5 separate regions of the Homo sapiens genome follow, and all the other regions are linked to region 4. Evidence: promoter capture Hi-C in 16 types of primary human blood cells and fetal thymus (Javierre and others, 2016). All regions are on one chromosome and are shown on one strand. The core of a region is centred on a gene start or on the middle of the fragment in contact, and the rest is flanking DNA. Distances in the headings are between cores, read along the strand shown. Region 1 overlaps REV3L (REV3 like, DNA directed polymerase zeta catalytic subunit). Region 2 has its middle 15 kb from the start of REV3L. Region 3 has its middle 43 kb from the start of SLC16A10. Region 4 holds the start of SLC60A2-DT (SLC60A2 divergent transcript). Region 5 overlaps RPF2 (ribosome production factor 2 homolog).

Region 1 (4,812 bases), core at 927-3,426, 200 kb after region 4:
ATCCTAAGCAAACTAATGGAGAAACAGAAAACCAAATACCCCATGTTCTCACTTACAAGTGGCAGCCAAACCATGAGTACATATGGACATTAAGATGGGAACAAACAGACACTGGAGAATACAAGATGGGAGAGGGAGGCAAGGATGGAAAAACTACCTATTGAGTACTATGCTCACTTCCTAGGTGACGGGTTCAGTCGTACTTCAAACCTCAGCATTATGCAATATACCTTTGTAATAAACCTGCACAGGTACACCCGGAATCTAAAATAAAAGCGGAAAAAGAAAAAAAATTTAATTCAAATAAAAATATATACGTAAAAGCCATATAACAAACAGTAGAGTGACATCTTTTAAGTACTGAAAGAAAAAAAAGGCAATCCAGAATTCTATATTCAGCAAGAATATTTTAGAAAAATAAAGTCTTTTTGAGAGAAACAAAGATAATTTATTACTAGCAGACTTGGCCTATAAGAAATGTTAAAAGTTCTTCAGGTAGACAGAATGATACCAGACAGAAAACTTGGATCTACACAAAGACATGAACAACAGTATAAACGGTATAAATGAAAGTAAATACAAAACTTCATATTTTTCTTATTTGCAATTGTTCTAAAAGATAACTGTCTCTAAAGCAAAAATGCAGTCATGTACTGCATAATGATATTTAATCGACAAGGGACCACATATATAATGGTGGTCCCATAAGATTACGATGAAGCTGAAAAATTCCTATCGCCTAGGGACATCCTAGTTGTATTAACATTGTAGTACGATGAGTTACTCACGTGTTTGTGGTGAAGCTGGTGTAAAGAAACCTACACTGCCAGTTGTATAAAAGTATAGCATATACAATTATGTTAAGTACATAATACTTGATCATGGTAACAGTTACTAGCTTATGTATTTATTATATACTTTATCATTATTTTAGAATGTACTCCTACTTACATAAAAAGGAAAGTTAACTGTAAAACAGCCTCAGGTAAGTCCTTCAGGAGATATTACAGAAGAAGGAACTGTTATCATAGGAGATGGCAGTTCCATGTGTGTAATTGTCCCTGAAGACCTTCCAGACAAGATGTGGAAGTGGAAGACAGTGATATTTATAGCTTGACTCTCTGTGGGCCTAGGGCTAATGTATTTGCGTCTTAGTTTTTAACAAAAGTTTTAAAAGTAAAAATTAAAAATTTTTAAATAGAAAAAAGCTTACAGAATGAGGACATACTTTTGTACAGCTGTACAATGTATTTGTTTTAAGCTAAGTTATTGTAAGAGAGTAAAAAAGTTTAAAAAACTAAGAAGTTAATAAAGTAAAAGTTACAGTAAGGTAAGGCTAATTATTGAAGACTTTTTAAAAATAAATTTATTATAACCTACATGAACAGTTCTATAAAATCTATAGCAATATACTGTAAAGTCTTAGAGTAGTAATATATTGCATGTTGATTGCATATATATAAAAGTAAAGTGTATGACAACAAAAACATAAAAGATGAAGAGGAGAAATGGGAGTATAGAACTATAAGGTCCTAATACTACATATAAAGCTATGTATTATTATATCAAGAAAACTGTGATTAATTACAAATATACGGCAAACCCTAGGGCAACCACTAAACAAATTTCAGAAAGAGGTATAAATAAATAAGCAAACCGCGGAGAGAAATGGAATTTTTAAAAAGTCCAAGTAATCCAAAAGAAAAAAAGAACAGATAGACTAACATAAACCAGATACCATAGTGGTAGATTTTAATCCAACCATATTACCAATGTTGATAAATATAAACAATCTAAACACACTAAATAAAAGAGACATGTCAAAATGAAAGACAGAGATTATCAGACTGGATAAACAAGTAAGCCCATCTATATGCTGACTATAAGAAACCCATATTAAGTGTAAAGATACAGATAGGTTGAAAGTGAAAGTAAAACAAAAAACAAAAACAGAAAAAATATGTTGGGAGACAATTCTCCATGGGTCTCTGTTGAGGTAGCTGCCTTTGAACCTACTTCTCAGTATCTGGTCTGCAACCATCTCCCCAGTTACTCTTTATTAATAAGTGATACAATGGAGAGATGGAAATCTCATGTCTATTGCTAATATGTATGAAATTCATGGCAAACTTCAGTTTTTGACATGATATACCATGTAAATACTAATCAAAAGGAAGCTGAAGTGGTTATATTAATACAAGGCAAAGAAGATTTCAGAACAAGGAATATTACCAGAGATAAAGAGGCTGTCCGCCAGAAAGGCACACCGATCTTAAATATGTATGGATCTAACAAACTTTCAAAATACATGAAAAAAAAACTGATAGAACTGGAAAGAGAAATAGACAAATCTATTAAGTTGGAGACTTCAACACATCTCTCAGTATTTTATAGAACGAGTAGGCTATAAACATATGGAAAAACTCAATCTCTCACTAGTGATGAAAAATGTACAAACCCACAATGAGATGTTTTAAATTAATTCCTAATTTAAAACTTAAGTCTGACAATCCTAAATATTGGTGAAGATGTGGAACATCAGAAACTCACACTTCTGGTGGGAGTATAGATTGGTATGATCACTTTGGAAAACAATTTGGCATTACTTAGTAGAGATGTGCTCATATTTATAATTTAAAATTCTTATGACGAATAAATAGTAAATATAGATTCACTCAGCAAATATTAAAAACAAAATAAAGCCACAGAATGTAAGTACAACACCCCGTTAGGCCTAACTAGACACCGAGACTCACATAACCCAAACAGGCTGGTTATACTTAACATGTCAGGCAGGAGTCCTCATTGCAATTCGGGGGCTAGTATCTTTGGCCCTCTCAGGTGGCAGATCAAGTGTAAGAGAATGAGAGCATAAGGTCCTTGCAGTAGCTACTCTAGCTTACAGGTACCAAATAGCAACCAATATCTCCAGTCTCATAGGCATAGCTTCCTGAGCTTCAGCAACAGATTTGCTTAGTTGCAAGAGTTATCACACTCAGGGAAGTCCAAAGCTGTTAACGGTATAAGTACCAGTATTTACAATTCATTCACAGTCCTCCTCTGGTCCTTATGCAATTCAGTAATCATGAGTCATTATTACCATAAGCAATGGTGCTCGGTTATACAACTGATATTCTACCTTATCAAGCTTCCAAGTGAACAAAGCTAGGAAGTTAAGCCAAGGCCAAAACTGTCCGAAGAGAAGAAAGGTTAATGTTACAACAAATAAAGAGATTCAATTTAGAATGGCACTAAGCTAAACAACTATTAATATATTTCACTGAATCCAAGATGCTAGTGATTATGACATAATTAATTTTTGTACTAAGAAAAGTGCTGTTAAGTAAATATGGTGCACTACTGATTGTAAGACATATCCTAATTACTGAGATGCACAAGGAGGGAAAATATACTTCTTAGAATTGATGAAATACAGAATAATCCTTCTCTAAATTTTTCACTAAAATATTTAAGACATACAGTAAATTTTCACTTAACTTTGTTGATAGGTTCTTGGAAACCTAAACTTTAAGAAAAACTTTGTAGCAGATCTCCAAATGACATTTTGTTCAACTTCATTTTATTATAACAATGAGAAAAAAACGGTTTCATTATATGTGATTTCACTTAAAGTCACAATTTCCAAGAACCTGTCATGGACATTAAGCAAGGACTTACTGTGTAACTCTTTTCTCTACCTTGGGGACACGGTCTGCTCCAACAGAAACCAGTCCCCTACTAAAAATTTTCTAAGACATGTAATACCTCTGTTCATCTACTCTAAAAACAACCAATATCAACATAATTGACGCAGCATAGCTGTCTTCATCCTGGCATGTTAAAAAGCATCCAAAATCTAAATAAATGAATTAGCTCCCATCACTGATTAAATCACTAAAAGTCCTAAGGGCCTTTACAACCTGGAGGCTTGCATGCAATGTTCTGGTAAAATAAATAAATAAATAACAAAAATTTAAAAAAAAAAACTGTTTCAGGTTATCCATAAATATGTTAGTTCCCATATACCAGCGAACTGTGCAAGGAGAAAAGTGGAAAAAACCTTAAACCTCAATCCAGTAGAGGTACACTAAGTGAATGTTTTCATCTAAGTGGGTTGTATACGATCATTAGTTCTTTATGCTAGGGAAGGCAAATCTATCTTTTTATAAGCAGAAAATAAATATGATTAAAGTGAACTTGCCATACCCTACCTACTGGCAAACACTAGGCTTGGAAAAATAGCCCTTGTTCATAGATAGGTATGTATGGAATGGGACCTAAACAAACATTCAGCAGCATAGATAAAACATCTTCTTAAAAATGCCAAAGAAAAGAATCTGTGATAATTTATATTTAGAAACAGAAAAAATGTAAAAAGTATATGCTGTGTGTTCTCAACAACATACATATAGGAAGAAATAAAAAGACAGACTTATATGCAGTCTAAGATATAAATGGAACTCTTAAGAGATAAGAAAAAAGAAATGAATAGAAACAACAATTTAAAAAACTACATTTTGGTACATACACTTTTAAAAATGAGTTCTGTTATCTATGTTTTCCAAAAAGGAAAACAGGGCCGGGCATGGTTGCTCACGCCTGTAATCCTTGCACTTTGGGAGGCCTAGACAGGTGGACTTCCTGAGCTCAGGAGTTCAAGACCAGCCTGGGCAACATGGTGAAACCCCATCTCTACTAAAATACAAAAAACTAGCTGGACATGGCAGCGTGCGCCTATAGTCCCAGCTACTTGGGAGGCTGAGGCAGAAGAATTGCTTGAACCTGGGAGACGGAGGCTGCAGTGAGCCACGA
Region 2 (4,623 bases), core at 1,618-4,117, 240 kb after region 4:
TCTAGTTCATCTGATAAGGTACATTTCTAATATTTTTTAAAATTAATATTTATTCAATCAAAAAGAGCATGTCTTAGACATCATGGGATGAAATGATAACTGAAGGAAAATAACTCCTAAAAATAGTCACCCTATTTAAAGAGGCTTTTGTAAATCAAAGTAGTCTCTAGTTGTAATTCAGGGCCAGAGGTCTTAGGCCCAGGTCCCTTGAGTTTTTTCATTCTTGAGTTTCCCAGCTTCTCCCTTCTGCTCTCAAAGATTGTCTAAAAACATACCCCTTTTTTCCCCTGTAGTAGCAGGGAAAACAGCACTATTCGGGTGGGGAATAGTGATGGGGCTTATTGGTATATATAGGTCATTTATTGAATAATAGTAGAGCATTCTGGTGTTTAAACTCTGCAGCCCAATTTCCCTACTTACCTGCTCCATAACTTGGGCAAATTACTTTCTGTGCCTCATTTTTCCTGTCTGTAATAAACAGATAATAATAGTAGTACCTACCTCTTAGTGTTGTTGTGAAGATTGAATTACATATATTAAATGAGTTAACACCTTAGACTGCTAAGCACTCAATAACAGTAAGCTATTCACAATTTAGAGGCAGCTTCTCCATTTCCTAAAATATACTTATTCATCAAGAAGAATGATGTAATAGTGAAAGGTAGGAGTTTTAAAAATTCCGTTGATTGGATGTAAAAAGTAGATTCTTAGAATTTCAAATAACCCAAGAAATTATTTATACCATTGGTTCTTAACCAGTAATATGCATCAGAATCATTTATGAGACGTTGTAAAGATACATTTATCTAGGCCCTTTCTTCTCATATCTACCAAGTCAGAATGCCCACAGGCAATTCCAGTGCAGTCTTCCTGTCAAGACCATTGAAATAATCCAAGTCTTTAGATTTTATAATGAAGAAATTGAGACTCAGAGAAAGTAAATGACTTGCCTAAGACCCCATAGAGTAAGTGAGATCCAGGTTACCTACCTCCTTGGTAAGCGATCTTCCTATTCTTCTGTGTTGCCACCAAATATATTAACTTTTAAAGAACCTAATATGAGAACTTATCCTTCTGTCAGTTATATCAGGAAGAATAATATAGGCTTTAAAACTTACTTCATTCAGCATTTAAATCAAAATAACAAAATTCCGGCCAGGTATGGTGGCTTACATCTGTAATCTCAGCACTTTGGGAGGCTGAGGTGGGAGAATCCCTTGAAGCCAGGAGTTTGAGACCAGCCTGGACAACATAGTGAGACTCTATCTCCATAAATAATAATAAAAAAACTAGCCAGGTGTGGTGGTGTGCACCTGTGGTCCCAGCTACTGGGGAGGCTGAGGTGGAAGGATTGCTTGAGCCCAGGAGATCAAGGCTGCAGTGAGCCATGATCACACCGCTGCACTCCAGCCTGGGAAACAGAGTGAGATCGTGTCAAAAAAAAATTTTTTTTTAATTTTTACAATTTATTCAGAGGACTATTGCACCTGTACAGAAGAACTTAAAGTGAATTTTGCTGTCTTTTTCATGAGGACATTAGTCTTTGCCACAATGCTTACTACTAATGAGTACAAGAAAACGCTGTGTGGGACAGAGTTGCTCGATCCAACCTCACAGATTGACAGGCAAACAAATGTTTTATAGGGCAAGGTAGCTGTTGGAATTAAACTTTTTAGGATTTTTGATAACAGAATATGTACTTCTCATAATTAGGGTTTTTTAAACATTTTTAAGGATTTTTAAACTTTTATAAAATCTCAGAATTTTCTAGTCTGTGAACAGTTCATGTAGAAAAATCAGTGGTTATTATGTACACTGTTATTGCAGCTTCGCTGAAAGATTAAAAATCTAAAAAATACAGTAAAAATAAGTTCTGAGTTTTTGTATTGATGTTGGGTGCTGTGATGTTATCTCTTTTAAAATGTGTTTTTCTTTTTCCATAATATAAAGGAATCAAAAAATACAACTTGTATGTGAACTTGTGCAAATGTGTGAAACAAATTAAGGTGACAGGGCAGAAGCAACAAAATGAAGCTCAAATGAAATCCACCTCTCAAAGCAGGTTCTATTTAATTTCTCTATATTTGCTATTATAAATTTTTTATTTTCATATATGTGTTTCTTTGCTAGAGATGATAATTGGATGCCAACCTAACTTCCAATTTTTAGGTGATTATTTTACCAACAAACCACTCACCTTGATGAGTGCACTGCATGGCCCCCGCTCCAAAGTCCACCATTCAGATCCTCATCAATATGTTATGACGACTGTTGCCTTTACTGTGTCTCTGCCTGATTCCATACCCTTTGCTCTACATTTCATCTCAGGTTCTGTCTTTTGGACCTTTTCACTTGATGCTTGTTCCTGGCATTTGAATCTCCATTCAACCTGATGATCTTTGATTTAGACTCACCATCCAGTTCCAAGCTGCCAGGATTTATTACCCTCTGATTTCAGCAGCTCAGAAATCCCTGGCACAGTCACAGGCTGGCTACCTCAAGGGACCAGCCCCAAACACTAGTGCTGTATTATAAACATCCATTTATTCATCTTTTTAACAGATTTTACTTATTGCCCACTATGTATAAGGCACTACAGAAGTTTCTGGGGATATAGAAGATTAGTGGCAGAAAGCTCTTAAGTCTCTTAAAATCTGGTAGGACAAATAATACAACTACATAATTATAATTTAAGATAGTATGTGTTCAACTACTAGAAGTTATATATACGAACAGGACAGTAATTAACAAAAGCTTCAAATAGATCCTTAAGTAATTAAGGAGCATAGGGTACGAGGATACGTTACCAATAACCTAGAGTGGTAGGTCACTGACAGGTGGCATCTTAACTAGATTTTGACGGTAAGATAGGGGAGACATCATGGAAGACAGATACTACAAAAACTGGAACCAACAAGAACAGGAAAAATGTTATGTTAAACCTTATTTATCCAGACTGACAGTGTAATGAGGAGTGGAAGAAAGCTTAGAAAAATTGGTTAGAACCAAGTTCTGGAAGGCTTTGAATGGTGAAGAGTTTAGAGTTGGCGAGCATGTATTGGACAGTCAGAAGGTTTTGAGCAGGAAATGAAATGATAATTGGCTTGATTTAGCAGTGGTATGTAGGAAGGATTTGGTGGTGAGGTGATATGCAGGCAGAGACTGTAAGCTAGTAATTTAAAGTAGGGGAGGGTCTGGAGATGACTTTCTTCATGTCATTAAATCTTGTTATTTGTGAGGTGCTGAGCTAGGTGCTGGGGAAAGAGTGAGAACTAGATCCTTGCCATGAGGGAGTTTTCAGTCTAGTGAGAGACTTGATATCTTAAAGCCTCCTTGAGGGGTCTCTATCCAAAATTTGGTACTCTGCTTCTGACTCTTGCCTGATTACTAGGTGATTAGATCCTCAGTTTACAATGGGCTGTGTTTCCTACCCTCTCAAACTGCTTTTCCATTTTTTGTGTCAGCTAAGGCAAAAATATTGCAACCACTTGTATATGGAGAAAAGCAATTTATTACTTAAAACAAGATAAGACATGAATACTGCACCAGATAAGGCAAAGAAGAAAATGACATGTGTCTTAAAGAGATAACTGAAGATGATGTGGAGAATGAATTGGAGGTTATGTTAGGGGCAAGAAAACTAGTTAAGAGGCTGTCGTAGTAATCTACCTGCTTAATTAAGAGGGCCTGAACTAAGACAATGTGAAAGAAAAGGAGTCCTTGGTGGCTACTTCCACCATAATCCTTTCTGTCTCTCCCTTGGTACAACGAAGGGATAGATAGGTGACTCTCATTTGGAATTGACTTTTGAACTGAGGGATTCAAAAACAACAAACACTCAGTTTACTTCAGACTTAGGGGTAATGCTCCTACTGTCAAGTAGTCTAGTTTCTGGTTATCTTTTTATTTGGAACATGGTTCTGCAGTCTTTAGTGAGCTTCCTGATAAATCTTTCTTTTGCATTAGTTAGACTGTTAGTTACTAGTGGTTACAGTATTAAAAACAACACAAAACAAAACAAAAACTACCCTAATTGACATTGTATGTGATATTTGAAGCACTTATGGATAACTAGGAGAAAACTGTTAGGGAGTTGGAAATATGGAACTAGAAGTGTGGTTCTCAAGGTGTGGTCACTGATGCAGCATCAGCATCACCTGGGAACTTACTAAAAATGAAAATTAACAGGTCCCATCCCAGACTTACTGAATAGGAAACTGGGAGTGAGGCCCCAGCAATCTGAATATTAACAAGCCGTCCAAGTGATTCTGATGCACACTGCAGTTTGAGGACCAACTGAACTAGAGCTTGAAATAGAGATTAGGAGTAGAAATAAAGATGTGTAAGTCAGATACATAACAGTCACTCTTGAGAGAATGAATAAACTCCCTAGAAGAGTGGAAGAGAGAAGATGAGCCCTTGAAGTAAATGGAACAATCAAAGAAATAAAAACTAGTGGAGTACAATAAAAGCGGGAGAAATTTAACAGTGGTATGAAATGACCTATAGTGTCAGGTGCTGTACAGAGGCCAGCATGGATGAGGATCATGCCAAAGCTGTAAGACTGACCATTAGGAGAATTTTGGTGTCAGTTAAAAGAGAAGTGGTACAGATAAGAGTAAA
Region 3 (4,997 bases), core at 1,397-3,896, 210 kb before region 4:
TCTTTTGCTTTTTTTTTTTTTTTTTTTAGACAGAATCTCGCTCTGTTGCCCAGGCTGGAGTGCAGTGGCGCGATCTGGGCTCACTGCAAGCTCCACCTCCCAGGTTCACGCCACTCTCCTGCCTCAGCCTCCCGAGTAGCTGGGACTACTGGTGCCCGCTACAATGCCCGGCTAATTTTTTTTTGTATTTTAGTAGAGACAAATTTTCATCATGTTAACCAGTATGGTCTTGATCTCCTGACCTCGTGATCTGCTGGCCTTGGCCTCCCAAAGTGCTGGGATTATAGGCGTGAGCCATCAAGTCTGGTCTGATCACATATTTCTTTGAGTTTTTGTTATTCTAGCTGAAGAGAGATCATTCAATGTTCGATGGATGGCTACATGTAAGTATTTAAAACCTTTGAGAGAATATAGCACACCAGCAAGACTACTATTATGACTATCAGGAGGATAATACCAGCAGTTTGGCATAAGCTCCTTAGCCAGGGTCCCCATGAACCAAACCAACTAAAATTGAATAGATCAAAGAATGAGCCAGATGAGGAGTCCACTTGTTTTAACCAAGCAGACTGTTCATTTTTTGCAACCAAGTCTCTGTAATACCCAACGTATCTACCCATGTACAACAAGAAGTGTTATCAATGGCACAGACTCCTCCTATACTATACAGCTAGCAGGAAATCTGGTATCCTATGACTGGGTTATATTAAAGCAGAGAGTGAGAACAAGTGGATCTAGAAGTGTAACCCTATTAAAGGGACCACTAGTACAATTTGAACAACAGTTACGTTAGGGATGTTGCTAAACTTACCCACTAGATGGACTAAAGAAGCTCTTAGGTTATGTAAAGATTTGGGTTTCACACGACAGATCCAACAGTTCATCAGATTGCCCCCGCAGGAGCTGCTGACTGTGCCAAGCGAAAAAGATGGGCAAAAAAAAAAAAAAAAAAAAAAAAAGTTCAGAGGGGCAAGAGTCTTATTATGATAGGCAGTCTTGTGCTGACACCTTGGGAAAAGCTGTTTACAACATGAAGTTGTCAACCTCTTTCCCTGGTTTGCAGTTTGAATGTCTCTGGTTATGGCATCAGGCGTTTTGGTGAACTCTGTGTGGCCAACACATCAGGAATGGCACTTGTCCCTTGAAATTTACAACGAGTTGTCTGGTTTCAGCTTAGAGGGCTTTGGGTACAGAGCAGTTCTTGTTCTTAGTTGGAGAATTGTAGCCAGATATTGGAGGAAAAGAGAATTCTAGAATCTAGTCCAGTCTACAAGAAGATAAGAAAAACTTGAAAACGATGAGCAAAGCCACAACCTAATAGCAGGTGTACTATAGCTTTTCTTCAGAAACAGTTTTTCTCTCTGCAGTTACTCCCATTTCTACCAAAAATAATCAGAATAACACAAATGTGTTTACAAAATAAGGTTAGTCTCATCAAACTTAGCCTGATTATTTACGTAAGAGCAGCAGGAATAGTGAATGACCACACAGACTGTTTTTAAGTTTCCTTTGCTGGAACTTTTTTTTTTCTTTTGAGACAGAATTTCGCTCTTGTTGCCCAGGCTGGAGTGCAATGGTGCAATCTCAGCTCACTGCAACCTCCGCCTCCCAGGTTCAAGCAATTCTTCTGCCTCAGTCTCCCGAGTAGCTGGGATTACAGGCATGCGCCACCACACCCAGCTGATTTTGTATTTTTTGTAGAAACGGGGTTTGTTCATGTTGGTCAGACTGGTCTTGAACCCCTGACCTCAGGTGATCCTCCTGCCTTGGCCTCCCAAAGTGCTGGGATTACAGGCGTGAGCCACTGCACCCAGACTGCTGGAACTTTTTTTCTCTTTTTCTATAACATTAACTGCTGCAAAGCTTTGCTGGAACTTTTGATAAGAACTCTAAGAATGGACATTTTAAAACTTCTTTAGGCTAGGAAGCCAAATCAAGGCATACTTTAGACTTAGCCTGCAGTACCTATAGATTCATTCTATATATCTTCTCATATATGACATCCCAGTCACAGCTTCAGTGATACAACCAAAATCTGCCTAAAGATGGATCTTCCAAAAGAACTCAATTGTCATCAATCCTCTCATTAGGAAGTTGCAACCAGGGGAATTTTATTTAACAAGAAGGAGAAGGAAAATTGAAGAAGAAAATCATATTCACTGCCATGAGAAACCTATTGCTTTCATCCTTCCATGATCTCCCTCAGTTCTGGAGTCGCCAGGTAAGAAGAGTACAGGCATATTTTTAGGACTATATAACTTTGTGGCATACCAACTCAACAAAGCACATCTTTAATTACAAATTTCTTTTCTTTTTATTTTTTATTTATTTATTTATTTATTTATTTTTTTTTTTGAGATGGAGTCTTGTTCTGTCGCCCAGGCTGGAGTACAGTGGCATGATCTTGGTTCACCGCAACCTCCGCCTCCCGGGTTCTAGCAATTCTCAGGCCTTGGCCTCCCAAAGTGCTGGGATTATAGGCATGAGCCACCATGCCTGGCCGAGTGTTCTAATTTCTCCACATCATCACCAATGCTTGCTATTTTCCATTTTTTCCCCATATAACACAAGTCCACTTATGTATATTTTCCATTTTTATTACAGTTATCTTAATGGATGTAAAGTGGTATCTCATTGTGGTTTTGATTTGCATGTATCAGATGATTAATGGTGTTGAGCATTGGAATTTTTTCACTCTCTTGATGATGTACTTTGAAGGACTAAAGTTTTGTTTTAATAAAGTCTAATTTACACATTTTTTTCTTTTTTTTGCTTGTGCTTTTGGTGTCATATCTAAGAAACTATTGCCTAGTCCAAGGTCATAAAGACTTACTCCTGTCTTTTCTTTGAAGAGTTTTAGAGTTTTAGCTCTTAGATTTAAGTATCTGATCCATTTTGAATTCATTTTTGTATCTGGTGTGAGTTAGAGGGTCCATCTTCATCCCTTGCATATGGATATCCAATGTCTTGGCACCATTTTTTGAAAAGACTATTCTTTCCTCATTGAATGGTTGTGTGCTCTTGTCAAAAATCGATTGACAGTAAATGTGAGGCTTTATTTCTGGACTTTCAATTCTGTTCTGTTGATTGATATGTCTGTCCTTATGCCAGTACCACTCTGTCTTGATTACTATAGGTTTGTAGTGAGTTTTAGAATTGGGAAATGTAAATTCTACAGCTTTGTTCTTTTTAAAAACTGTTTTGACCATTCTGAGTTTCTTAAATTTCCATGAGTTTTAGGATTAGCTTGCCAATTTTTGCCAAGAAATCAGCCAAGATTTTTGTTAGGGATTGTGTAGAATCTTAGTTCAATTTGAAGAGTTTTTCCATCTTAACAATGTTACGTGTTCTGATCTGTGAACATAGGATATCTTTCCGTTTATTAAAATCTTCAATTTCTTTCAATGATGTTTTGTAGGTTTCAGCATACAAGCTTTGTACCTCTTTTGTTAAAGTTATTCCTGTGCATTTTTTCTTTTTGATGCTATTGTAAACAGAATTTTCTTTATTTCATTTTCTGTTTGCTTATTGCTGCTATAAAGAAATACAGTTTCTCTTTGTATATTGATCTTGTATTCTGAAACCTTGCTGAACTTGTTTATTAGTTCAAATAGTTTCTTAGTGGATTCATTAGAATTTTCTATATGCAAAATCACATCATCAACTAATAGGATACTTTTATTTCTTCCTTTCCAAGCTGGGTGCCTTTTATTTCTTCCTTTCCAAGCTGGGTGCCTTTTATTTCTTATTCTTGCCTAATTGCCTTGGCTAGAACCTCCTTCACAATGTTGAATAGAAACCGGGAGAGCGGACATCTTTGTCCTGTTCTTCATTTTGTCTTGATGCTTCATCTGAAAAAGAATCAGTTATTTTACCATTAAATATGCTGTTACCTGTGGGTTTTTTGTAGAAGCCCTATATTAGGTTGAAGAAATTCTCATCTATTCCTACTTTGTTGAGTGTTTTTTTTTCATCATGAAAGGGTGTTAAATTTTGTCAAATGCTTTTTCTGCATCTATTGAAATGATCCTGTGGATTTTGACGTTTATTCTGTGTGTGTGTGTGTGTGTGTGTGTGTGTGTGTGTGTTTTAGGCTTTACTTGGATCAGGTAGGCTTAAGGCAGGGGCCATGCTGCAGGAGAAGGGCCTGTAAACCAGTCAGTACTGCTCTTTCATGCAGCCCTGGGACCTCAGGGCTGAGCTCCACAGGCAAGGGGCCCGTTAGGCCCCTCAAAGCAGACACAACCACTAACAGGAAGGAAGGTCAGGCTGGCTTTAGTGCAGGGAAGGGTAATGTTGGGAGGGAGACGTTCATGAAGGAAAATGGGTAGCTGAGGCTTTAAAGGGCTTGGATGGGACACGGGTTTAGGGGAAGTGAAGAAGGCCAATAAAGTCTTGGGGGTAAAGAAGGGAATAAACAGGAGAAAGGAACAAGAAGGCAGGTGCTGGGGTGTAGAGTCCAGCTGCTCTCCACAGCCTGGGCAACAGGCTGAGTATGGGCAACTCAATCCCACCTCCTGGCCTTCAAGGCACTACTTGTTGCCCCAGACAGCCATCTTTGTGAACACAGGTCTCAGGAGGAAGCAGCTGGATTTCATGTAGGCAGAGATCTCCAAGCCCTCAAATCGGGAGATGAAGTCCTTCAGGTTTGGGAAGGCGTCCAACCACTTGGGCTCAAATACTTGGTTTCTCTCAAGGATGCCATACGCGATGAAATCCACAAGTGTGATCTTGTCCCCAAGAAACAATAGCTGCTTCCCCAGAAACTGTGAGTAGAGCTTCAGCATTGCAGGGAGTGCCTCCAGGTATTCTGGCTTCAGTTTCTTAAAATCTGGGTTGTAGCAGAGTCTGGCCAGCTGCACGTGGTTGTCCACAAGCTGGTTCTCCAAAATGTCTTCCCAAATCTTCTCCCCTTCTGTCTCCCCACACAGGTTGTGCTTGTAGGCAATGCAGCCCAGGATGGCCTTGCTCTGGGTGATCTTGTGAGCCCCATCAAT
Region 4 (4,969 bases), core at 1,655-4,154:
TAGCAGTGAAGTTAAAGAATGATAGTTTAGTATACAGAAAGAAACAGTTATGGTGACACTTAGTTCTTCATGATGCACTGTAAGCACAAATTGGACATCACATGATAAGTAAAAAGGATGGTCCTTCTGGCAAATAAAAATTAAATAGGTCCTCACAGTGATATGCAGTCTCCAAACATGATCTGTCTAATTTCTCTCTCTCACCCAAAGTAAAAAGTTAAGTTGAAAGATTAAAACCTGCCTTCTTGTTACTATTTCACAAATACACCCAGATAGTACCAGATTAGTGACTAAAATCCAGATATTTTCCTTTTAGATAAATTAAGCCATATACATTGTAAAATACTTATTTTTTAAGAGAATCAATAAAGCTATATTTATTTTCAGTAGAAAATGTGGCTCATAGACACTTTATTTCTCTGAAATTGCCTCTCAAGAAAAAACTTGATCCTCACTATTGATCTAAGAGAAATCTGCATGAAGCAATGCTGTAGTTTATGCTTTTTTTTTTTTTTTTTTTTTTCTCAAAGGTGGTGGGTGACCTCTGGAGGCAACTGGAAAAAATATACTGCTGCTTTCAAGAGTGAAGTGGGGAATGAAGAATCAGAAAGTAGATCTTTCCATTTAGAGAAGGCTTTTTCTTTTTTTTTTTTTTACATTTAATCAGGGTGAATTAAAATATTTAATTTAAAAATGGCTTTACTGAACCTCAATTCAGTTAGGTAATTAATCAATTCAGTTAGGTAATAGCTACTAAGTATGTAATACAATGTTAGGGGAGAGACATATAACATCCATAGTTTCAATCTCATTGAGTTTATAATCTACTAAGGAACTGAAGATAAGTGCTAAAAGAACTGTAACACGAGGTAAAACCTGTGACAAGATTTAGGAGCAGCACAACTATATAGTTGTGAAACTAAACCAGCCTCAAGGCTGAAAGGCAGGTGAGAAAAGACTACCTACCAAAGTAGGTTTTGTTTGTTTGTTTGTTTGTTTGTTTGTTTTAACATGGATTCTCCAAAGATAGGTAGAAAAGTCCTGGTTTGGCGTCATTAGTCTACTTCAGCCCCTCTCTCACTGATTACGACTGAAAGACTCATGACAAAATACAAATGGCAACTACCTGCCGCCTCTGAAAAGTAAATAAAGAATTGAGGTAGGGAGTCAAAACTTAGAAACCTGCAAGGGGATGAATTTCCTGGCTTTTTTCTTCTTTTCTTGTGGTTTGTCCTGAGGAGAGACCCCAGCTGGGAACTGTTGGGTGGCATGGGTAGCTAAAACTCGAATAGAAATCTCATCTTTCTGTGCTGAAAGGAAATAACGGTTAGCCCAGAACTCTATTTTCAGTGAAAATATTTTCAGGAATCAAAGTGAAATAAAGACATTCTCATATGAAGGAATGCCAGCTGACCTGCTCTAAAATAAATGCTTGGCGGGCCGGGCGCGGTGGCCCACGCCTGTAATCCCAGCACTTTGGGAGGCCGAGGCGGTCGGATCATGAGGTCAGGAGTTCGAGACCAGCCTGACCAACATGGTGAAACCCCGTCTCTACTAAATAAAAAAATTAGCCGTGCGTGGTGGCACGCGCCTGTAATCCCGGCTACTCAGGAGGCTGACGCAGGAGAATCGCTTGAACCTAGGAGGCAGAGGTTGCAGTGAGCCGAGATCGCACCATTGCACTCCAGCCTGGGCGACAGAGCGAGATTCCGTCTCAAATAAATAAATAAATAAATAAATAAATAAATAAATAAATAAATAAAAAAGAAATGCTTGGCGGGGCATGGTGGCTCATACCTGTAATCTCAGCACTTTGGAAGGCCAAAGGCAGGCGAATCACTTGAGGTCAGGAGTTCGAGACCAGCCTGGCCGACATGGTGAAAACTCGTCTCTACCAAAAAGCGCCACAACACTCCAGCCCGGGCGACATAGGCTCTGTCTCAAAAAAGAAAACAAACAAACAAAAAAAAAAGTGGGGGTGCGGGTGGGGGGAAGACTTAATGACTAAACGAATAAGTCTGGAGAGACGGGTTGCAAGGGATGATGAGACTAAGGTTTGTAGTCTGGGAGCCTAAGTGGATGAAAGTTGGAAGAATCAGGTGGAAAAGAACATTTCAAATAGACCACAAAGAAAAGTATATAACATTTTGAGGCTGTGGTACGCTTTGTTAAAGAGCAAAAGGAAAACAATTCCTCAAATCAGGGGGGAGGGATAGCATTAGGAGATATACCTAATGTTAAATGACGAGTTAATGGGTGCAGCACACCAACATGGCACATGTATACATATGTAACTAACCTGCACGTTGTGCACATGTACCCTAAAACTTAAAGTATATAAAAAAAATTCCTCAAATCGATGCCACGCTCCACTTCTTTACAACGATGGAATTATTTCAGGAATTGGAATTATTTCAGGAATTGTGTTTGAAACCACAGCTTTGGATCCCGATTTCTTTCTTGAGCTACTGTTACACTGTTTATATACGGCCACTAATTCGATGACTGAGCTTGGGCAGATTGTTAATTATTTTCTATGACTTAATCTTTCTATCTGTACAACGGGGATAACGTGGAATTTGGAGTGTTGTGAGGGTTGAGATAATATACGTGATAACTTACACAATGACGTTCAACAAATACTTGTGGAGTGAAAGATGCGCGATTCATTGACAGATCTCAGGGATTTCAGAAAGCTGTATAAGGACCAGCTCTTCAGGCTCCCTTCGCTCCCCAGGAGACCGGGGAGCCGGCGCGAGGCGCTACAGTGTAATTCTTGGCCCCTTTTCCTCATAATGGTTTGGCCGCATTTTTACCTCTTGATTTCCCTGGTCCCAGGCTGCAACTTCAGCTCGCTCCGCCATGGGGCGCACGTCCGCCAGCCTCTGTGAGCTCAGCTAAGTATGATGCCTAGGCTAGAGAGCTACGTCCGGTCTCCTAGGCAACCATATCAACTTCCGGCTTGAGGCACGATAGCGGTTGGCGAGAGGCCACATTTCCGCCACGTGACCCGCGCATGCGCCTGCTTGCTGGAGAGCGAGCGTCTTTTGCCACGAACACCTGCGGCGTGCCGAAGTTCCTCTTCTCTGCCCCGGTTCCGGGCGGTCCGCTGGGAGGTGGCGCCCGGAGGGACACCCGTGCCTGGGGTCGGGGCCAGTGCTCTTCTCGGAGCTCCAGAAGTTCTGCTGAGAAGCGCGGCGGCAGCAAGACGACTTCTCCGGAGCCGCCGAGCTGGAGTTAGAGGTGGAGCTCCGTGGGGCCGGGCCCCCGGCTGCGGGGCAGCGGCTCCTGCAGGCGGAGGCCCCGGCGGAGAATGAGCCGGAGCCGGAGGTGGTGGTGGTCTCCTGGCAGAGCGGTGGGACCGGGAGCAAGCTGCGGTGGTTCACCACCTTGATGCTGTGTGCCTCCTTCCTGGGGCTGGTGAGAGCCGGGGCTGCAACACTCCCAGGCCGGGGCGTTCGAGTCTTGCCTTCGCCACTTGCAAACTGACCTTGGGCGCGTTACCTAATCTGACTGGGCCTCAGTTTCATCATCTAGAAAATGGGCACAATTCTAATCTTGGAGGAAATAGATTTTCTGAATACGTCTTTCAGCTCCAGCAAGCTTTTTTTTTTTTTTTTTTTGACGGAGTCTCGCTCTGTTGCCCAGGCTGGAGTGCAGTGGTGCGATCTCGGCTCACTGCAACCTCTGCCCCCAGGGTTCAAGCGATTCTCCTGCGTCAGCCTCCCGAGTAGCTGGGATTACAGGCGCCTGCCACTAAGCCCGGCTAATTTTTGTATTTTTAGTAGAGACGGGGCTTCGCCATGTTGGCCAGGCTGGTTTCAAACTCCTGACCTCAGGTGATCCGCCCACCTCGGCCTCCCAAAGTATTGGGATTACCGGCGTGAGCCACGGCGCCCGGCCCGGCAAGCCTTCCTACGTCTCCTTCGTCGGATGGGAAGGTTGCAAGAGGGGTTCACCAGGTCTTTGGCCGCTGCTCTCCGCACCCACCCACTCAACCCCCAAATTATTACACAGAAAAACTACTTTTCTGGAATTTCTTCCTGGTGATCTGACCAAATTCAGCCAACCGCTTAATTTTGCAGATAAGGAAATAGGCCCGGAGGGGAAAGTGACTTTCTGGATCACACAGCTGGTTAAGTGATAGAGCCAGAAATATGTCTTTTACTCTGCCCACCATCCTATTTATTAATAAAACCAACCTTTAGATTCTTAAATGTTTTTCTTGGAGCAAAGGGCAAGCCTAGAGGCGCCTTTTGCCAAACCCCTGGGTCGCCACTCAATTCACTTTTCGGAAACCTCCTCCTTATCACTTGATAATTATGATCCTGGGGGAGTTGAGAGGATGAGTCCTCCCAAGAGTCATGTGTGGTCACTTACCATCTCAGGGACTCTGAGCCACAGTTGTTTCTTAGAGTATTTTGATTGGGGGCGGTGGGGAGGGGTGAAGAAAGAAATCACTTCAGACTTTTGGTGAGTCGTCACTGACTTGTCCGGTCCTGTTGTAAATCCTTTGAAGACATGAACTAATTTGATTAGATTCTGTGCTCAGGCTTCTCTCGAAGTACGAGGTGCTTGCTGTGCACCTGGGCCCATAGTGGTCCGTGGTCTTGGACTGTTACGAGTTGGGCAGGGGGCGCACCCCATGCATTTAGAGCAGAGCAGGGCAATTAGAATCAGTTATTCTGGAAATGTAGACTGATTGGAAACATTTTTTTCTTTAAATGTCCAATGAATTTCCTCTGAAAGTCAATTGTAATCCTTACCTCTTGCTGACACTGCATTGAGTAAAGTTTTATTGTTAAAGTCATTCTGTACTTGGGCGTGTAATATTTTTTAAGCAACCTTTACTGACTAATTCTGATGGCGTGGAAGAAAAGTGTAGATTTAGAAACATTTAAATTGTTTATCTCCTGTATGTTTTATATGTATAGTTCAGGGGAAGGACTCCATGTGCATCCAGAAATAT
Region 5 (5,229 bases), core at 266-2,765, 230 kb before region 4:
AGCTTTCCCTAGTCCTCTCCGGATAGCTGTTACTCTCCTCTTGCCAGAAAAATGAAGGAGCTGGTATCATTTATACTTTTTGTTTGATTATACGTTTAACCAAAGACCATACAGTCTCGTACCTGAATCAGACATTTGCACTTTATATCTAAATGAGAAGAAGGGGCTCAGATAAGTCGTTTGCTGCCATCTGGAGGTAGATGGACAATAGCTGAGAAGGGGAGCCATGAAAAGAACATCAGGAGTGATGGACGCATAGTCCTTCCCCAAAGCCTCGCTCATCACTGGTAGGAGGCAAAGCAGTGGGTCCTCCTCACCAGCCGCTTACGGGACCCTGCCATGCCTGGACCCCTCTATCAGGAAGACCTACCCCAGCACTACTGGAAAATCAGCCAATCTTAACCCAAAGATGGCCATGATTTCTGTATGTGAGACGTCTTAAGGGTGTTTTTGTTTGTTTTAATCAGCCCTCTTGTTTGAGATTTGGCAATACATTTCTGTTTTCTAGGTAATTTCTGTGTCTGATGGTAGAGGATCTAATAAGTATTGGAATGCTTCCTATTTGCTGATAGAAGTACCAAATAGTATTATTGAAGTCTAACAAAGACTTTTTGTTGAGAACACCTTGTAGTGTTGTACTATCTGGAACTCTTGAGCTGCCATTTATATCACTTTTTGTGGAGAGCACATCTTGATTTTCAGTTGTCCTTACTTTAGAATACAACACACATAAATTGGAGACTATGTATTCATTTCAATGGAGGTGGTAAATTGCCTGTTTTAAGTTTTACTTAATGTTGGGTTTTGGTAGATGAGGAAAGCATTTTGGTTATTTGTTTTGTTTTAAATACCAAATTTCTTATATTTTTTCTGGAATATTAATACTATTACCAAGCTATTATTTCATGGAATTTGGGTTTCTTTTTTTTTGTTTTTTTAAAATTAAGTGCTGTTTGTTTTCTTGGTTATTGAACATAATCCAAAGTAGAGATGTTATTACTCAATTCAAGAAAAGAAAGGGCTAATAAAACTTAACTTCAAGTCAGTTTTCATTTATCTGATTAGCTACTTACATGATCTCTCCTTCCTTTCCTTTTTATGTCTAGCTACTTAAGGCTAAAAATGGAAGGCTTCAAAATGGAAGAAGTTAAAACTACTAAACCCATTGCTAAGATCCGAACAACAAAGGAAGGTTTGCTTTTATTGAATTTCAGAAATTGGTGCTTTGTCCACCATAAAATTAAGAGACAGTGCAAAAAATACGAGCTTCATTATGTTTTTAATGCACTTTTACTTAGAAATAGTCAAAACATAACTGCATTTAAGACAAATGCATCCTAGCGTATATACATTATGAAATTGTAGAGAATACTGTTTGATATTCATTGAAAGAAGCTATTCTGAAAAAGAAGATGAAATGGGCTTGCTTACTTGAGGTATATGCTAGCTGTGAAAAGAAAGTCAGCTTGCATTTAGATGTTGTTTGTCTCTCATATCAACAACTCGAGTTGCTCAAGTTTAAAAACAGCAAGGATGTCATTGTGTTTCTCGTATCATTCAGAGTGTGCCAGTTAGACCATGTTAGGAATTTTAACTTTGCCATCATTGAATTGAAGCTATTCTGCACTCTTTTTCCATTTCAGAGCTCTCTGGAAAAAAGTTTTTATTATTATTTTTTTGGAGACAGAGTCTTGCTCTGTCGCCCAGGCTGGAATGCAGTGATGCGATCTCAGTTCACTGCAAGTGCCGCCTCCTGAGTTTAAGCGATTCTCGTGCCTCAGCCTCCCGAGTAGCTGGGATTACAGGCATGCGCACTGCGCCCAGCTAATTTTTAGTAGAGACAGGGTCTCGCCATGTTGGCCAGGCTGGTATTGAAGTCCTGATCTCAAGTGATCTGCCTGCCTCGGCCTCCCAAAGTGCTGGGATTACAGGCGTGTGCCACCGCACCCAGCTGAGAAAGTTTTTAAATATAGCATAAATACATTTTATGTATTAGAAATCAGGTGTCACTCTGTTGCACAGGCTGGGGTGCAGTGGTGCAGTCATAGCTCACTCCAGCATCAGACTCTGGGCTCAAGGCATCCTCTCGCTTCAGCCTCCCAAGTAGTTGGGACCACAGGCAGGTGCCACGACAGCTGGGCTAGTTTTTTTTTTTTTGTAGAGACGATGTTTCACTATGTTGCCCAGGCTGGTCTTGAACTCCTGGCCTCATGCAATATTCCCGCCTCAGCTTTCCAGAGCACTGAAATCACACGCGTGAGCCACAGTGCCCAGCCCATAAATGCGTTTTAATTCTGTTCCTGTTTTTCCATTAAACTTCTGTCCTTTCTCGGCCGGGCGCGGTGGCTCACGCCTGTAATCCCAGCACTTTGGGAGGCTGAGGCGGGCGGATCATGAGGTCAGGAGATCGAGACCATCCTGGCTAACACGGTGAAACCCCGTCTCTACTAAAAAATAGAAAAAATTAGCCGGGCATGGTGGCGGGCGCCTGTAGTCCCAGCTACTCGGGAGGCTGAGACTGGAGAATGGCGTGAACCCGGGAGGCAGAGATCGCGCCACTGCACTCCACCCTGGGCGACAGAGCGAGACTCCGTCTCAAAAATAAAATAAAATAATAAAATAAACTTCTGTCCTTCCTTCCCCAACCCATCTCACCCCTACCCCCATTCCTCTCACACATGTTCAAGGAATCAGAAAGTGGGTTCCAAACAGGGAGAAAACTCTGGCTCTAGTTTCATACAAGCTGGGGCTTGTATGAAAGAAGGCAGATAAGGGAGAAATGGCAAAGTATGTAGAACTCAGCAGTTAGGGCATTTGCCAAGCAAAGATCAAAGCCCCAGAGCTGTAAGTGCTTTACTGGATTGGGATTGATTCCTCAAACTGAAAACCAGGCTTCTGAGGGCTCAGACAGACACAGAGTGGCAGATGTTGGCTCCGTGAGGCGTTGCCCTCTCACCCAGCTGGAACCCAGGGCTGCACAGGCACCATCTGTGGACACTAGATCACCGAGTAGGAGGGGGAACCTGCAACCAGAGTTAGAGCCAAGCTAAAGTTGAACTTGTGTTCTGGTAACTCCCTCTGTCCCTCTCACACACTGTGGATGAGTTACGAAAGAGGTTCCTGAAAGGCAAGCTTATTTAATTTCTGCATTTGAAATAGATTTTGAAGATTCACATTTATCAGCTTGAGCAATTTATTTTCCCACTCTCCTACCTGATTTCCCCAGAGTCACTTATCTGACAAAGCAAATAGCATAGTGACTTGACTGATTAGAGACATCAGTTTAGATGACACCACCTGCAACAGCACCTCCGGCTCAGCCTTTCGGAGGCCGCTCGGTTTATGGCACTGGGAGAGCGTGAGAATTCTTTACTGTCCCCATGAGGCCCCATTTCATCCATCTGGCTCCCCAGTCAAAGCTAGTGAATGCCACAAATATGTTTTGAATTTTACCCCCAGCACCTTCCTCCATTAAGGGTGACCTTGGGGAAAGGTTAGACAGAATCTTGAAAAATCAATCAAAGCTCAAGTGGCATGAGAGCTCAAAAGCAGCATCACCATACGGGCAGGAGAGTATGTGGGAGTGGCAGACAGGGCAGTGTTGTGGGAAGGAGTGTGGCATTAAATGAAACCGACACAACCCTCGCCTGCTACTCTGAGAGCTCAGCTGAGATTTAAAAGGACAATTAAAAGATACAGTGCATAAAACCATGGGCAACACCAATTAGTAATATGGTTCTCTAAGAAAAGTGAAAATGTTTGCAGACTCAAGAAATGCAAAGGGCAATCAATGTGGCTTTGTTTTGTGGTAGTAGTAGTAGCAGTATGACAAAGAATTTTAAAAGGGGACTTGATAAGGCAACTGGTATAATACTGGCTGATGAAATTCCCATGTTATCTCCATTCTTAGAAAATGAGAGGAGTAGCCATCATGATTGAGAAATAGGGCTCCCGAAAGTAATTCTATCCTAACCTCAAGGTGGGTGAAATATGGCATGCAAAGCACCTGGCCGCTTGAAATAACTGAGTCTCCATTCCAAACATGCACATTCAGTTAATCTTGAAGGAACTATGGGGACGTAGAATGAGGCAGAGAACTGGTGACAGATACCTTCTAGTTTTGACTCTGGCAAAATTATAAGAAGAATCATGTAGGTGCCTCATGAGCTCTTACTTAGAATTGGAAATAGTCATCACTAGGAGCCAGCCTGGGTTCCCTGAGAGTTAAGAGTGTTAACCCATTTCCTTTTTTGAAACAGATACTTTCCCGGTAGAGCGTTGAAGTCAAAATTGTAGAGACGAATCTCTAAATTTGTTTTACTTGGGAGAAAGAATTGTAACCATAATAAATTTGTTGCCTGAGGCACACAGCAAGTCAATACACTGAGACACCAGGTTGCAGCAGAGAAAGAAGAAGAATCATAAAAATTTGAACCAGGAGGTCGGGCATGGTCGCTCACACCTATAATCCCAGCACTTTGGGAGGCCAAGGCGCACAGATCGCTTAAGCTCAGGAGTTCGAGAACAGCCTGACCAACATGGCAAAATCCCATCTCTACTAAAAATACAAAAATAAACCGGGCACAGTAGTACACGCTATTTATTGCAGCTACTCAGGAGGCTGAGGCAGGAGAACCGCTCGAACTCAGGAGGTGAAAGTTGCAGTGAGCTGAGATCACGCCACTGCACTCCAGCCTGGGCGACAGAGTGAGACCCTGTCTCAAGAGAAAAAGAAAAGAAAAGAAAAATTTGAATGAGGAGATGGGAAGAAACCTCAGATACAATTCTAAGGAATTTGAGGTTAGGATTTTTTAGGGTTTTAGAGATTGTTAATTGATGAAAGAGTGCAAAGTGAAGTCATAGGACAGGGAGATGAAGAAACTATTCTCATACTGATCCCCTTCCTCTGGTGGGATCTTCAAGCTGGTTGGCATCAGCTGTTTTGTTGGAATTCGGGGTCTGAAAAACATCTGTTTGTTTTTGTTTTTTTGAGATAGGGACTTGCTCTGTCACCCAGTGTGATTATAGCTCACTGCAGCCTCGAACTCTTTGGGCTCCAGCAGTCCTCCAAACTCAGCCTCCCAAATAGGTAGAACTACAGGCGCGCACTACCAGGGCCAGCTAATTTTTTAATATTTTTGTAGGAAGATACGGGGTCTTGCTATGTTCCCCAAGCTGGTTGAACTCTGCCTCAAGCAGTCCTCCCATCTCGGCCTCCCAAAGTGCTGG

The links. Contacts are between HindIII fragments. The CHiCAGO score rates a contact against its expected background, and 5 or more counts as called.
Region 1: a contact is called between a fragment that was not itself captured here and the fragment with the promoter of SLC60A2-DT in region 4, in 1 of 17 cell types (M2 macrophages). The highest score is 5.1, in M2 macrophages.
Region 2: a fragment that was not itself captured here is called in contact with the fragment with the promoter of SLC60A2-DT in region 4 in 2 of 17 cell types (total B cells and naive B cells); the score reaches 6.2 in total B cells.
Region 3: a contact is called between a fragment that was not itself captured here and the fragment with the promoter of SLC60A2-DT in region 4, in 2 of 17 cell types (megakaryocytes and M0 macrophages). The highest score is 5.6, in megakaryocytes.
Region 5: a contact is called between a fragment that was not itself captured here and the fragment with the promoter of SLC60A2-DT in region 4, in 3 of 17 cell types (M0 macrophages, M1 macrophages and M2 macrophages). The highest score is 7.6, in M0 macrophages.

The regions. Positions count from the first base shown.
Region 1 is chr6:111,460,143-111,464,954 of GRCh38, forward strand. All of the region lies in intron 1 of REV3L (REV3 like, DNA directed polymerase zeta catalytic subunit), which reads right to left. Among named protein-coding and RNA genes, the nearest start is that of REV3L, 21 kb to the right of the region's middle. The HindIII fragment of the contact is 1,940 bases long and covers 1,207-3,146 here.
Region 2 is chr6:111,495,918-111,500,540 of GRCh38, forward strand. It overlaps TRAF3IP2-AS1. Among named protein-coding and RNA genes, the nearest start is that of REV3L, 15 kb to the left of the region's middle. The HindIII fragment of the contact is 231 bases long and covers 2,753-2,983 here.
Region 3 is chr6:111,042,336-111,047,332 of GRCh38, forward strand. It overlaps the pseudogene GSTM2P1. Among named protein-coding and RNA genes, the nearest start is that of SLC16A10, 43 kb to the right of the region's middle. The HindIII fragment of the contact is 1,570 bases long and covers 1,862-3,431 here.
Region 4 is chr6:111,256,308-111,261,276 of GRCh38, forward strand. SLC60A2-DT (SLC60A2 divergent transcript) reads right to left here and starts at 2,905. Exons shown (of 3, transcript XR_001743807.2): 1 at 2,817-2,905. SLC60A2 (solute carrier family 60 member 2) reads left to right here and starts at 3,032. Exons shown (of 4, transcript NM_153369.4): 1 at 3,032-3,420. The coding sequence starts at 3,394. It overlaps LOC124901378 (a long non-coding RNA gene), which reads left to right. Exons shown (of 2, transcript XR_007059708.1): 2 at 531-1,403. RefSeq lists enhancers at 1-138, 2,682-2,741, 3,062-3,141. The HindIII fragment of the contact is 14,878 bases long and covers 1-3,601 here.
Region 5 is chr6:111,027,219-111,032,447 of GRCh38, forward strand. It overlaps RPF2 (ribosome production factor 2 homolog), which reads left to right. Exons shown (of 10, transcript NM_032194.3): 10 at 1-1,045. Among named protein-coding and RNA genes, the nearest start is that of RPF2, 48 kb to the left of the region's middle. The HindIII fragment of the contact is 3,229 bases long and covers 1-3,130 here.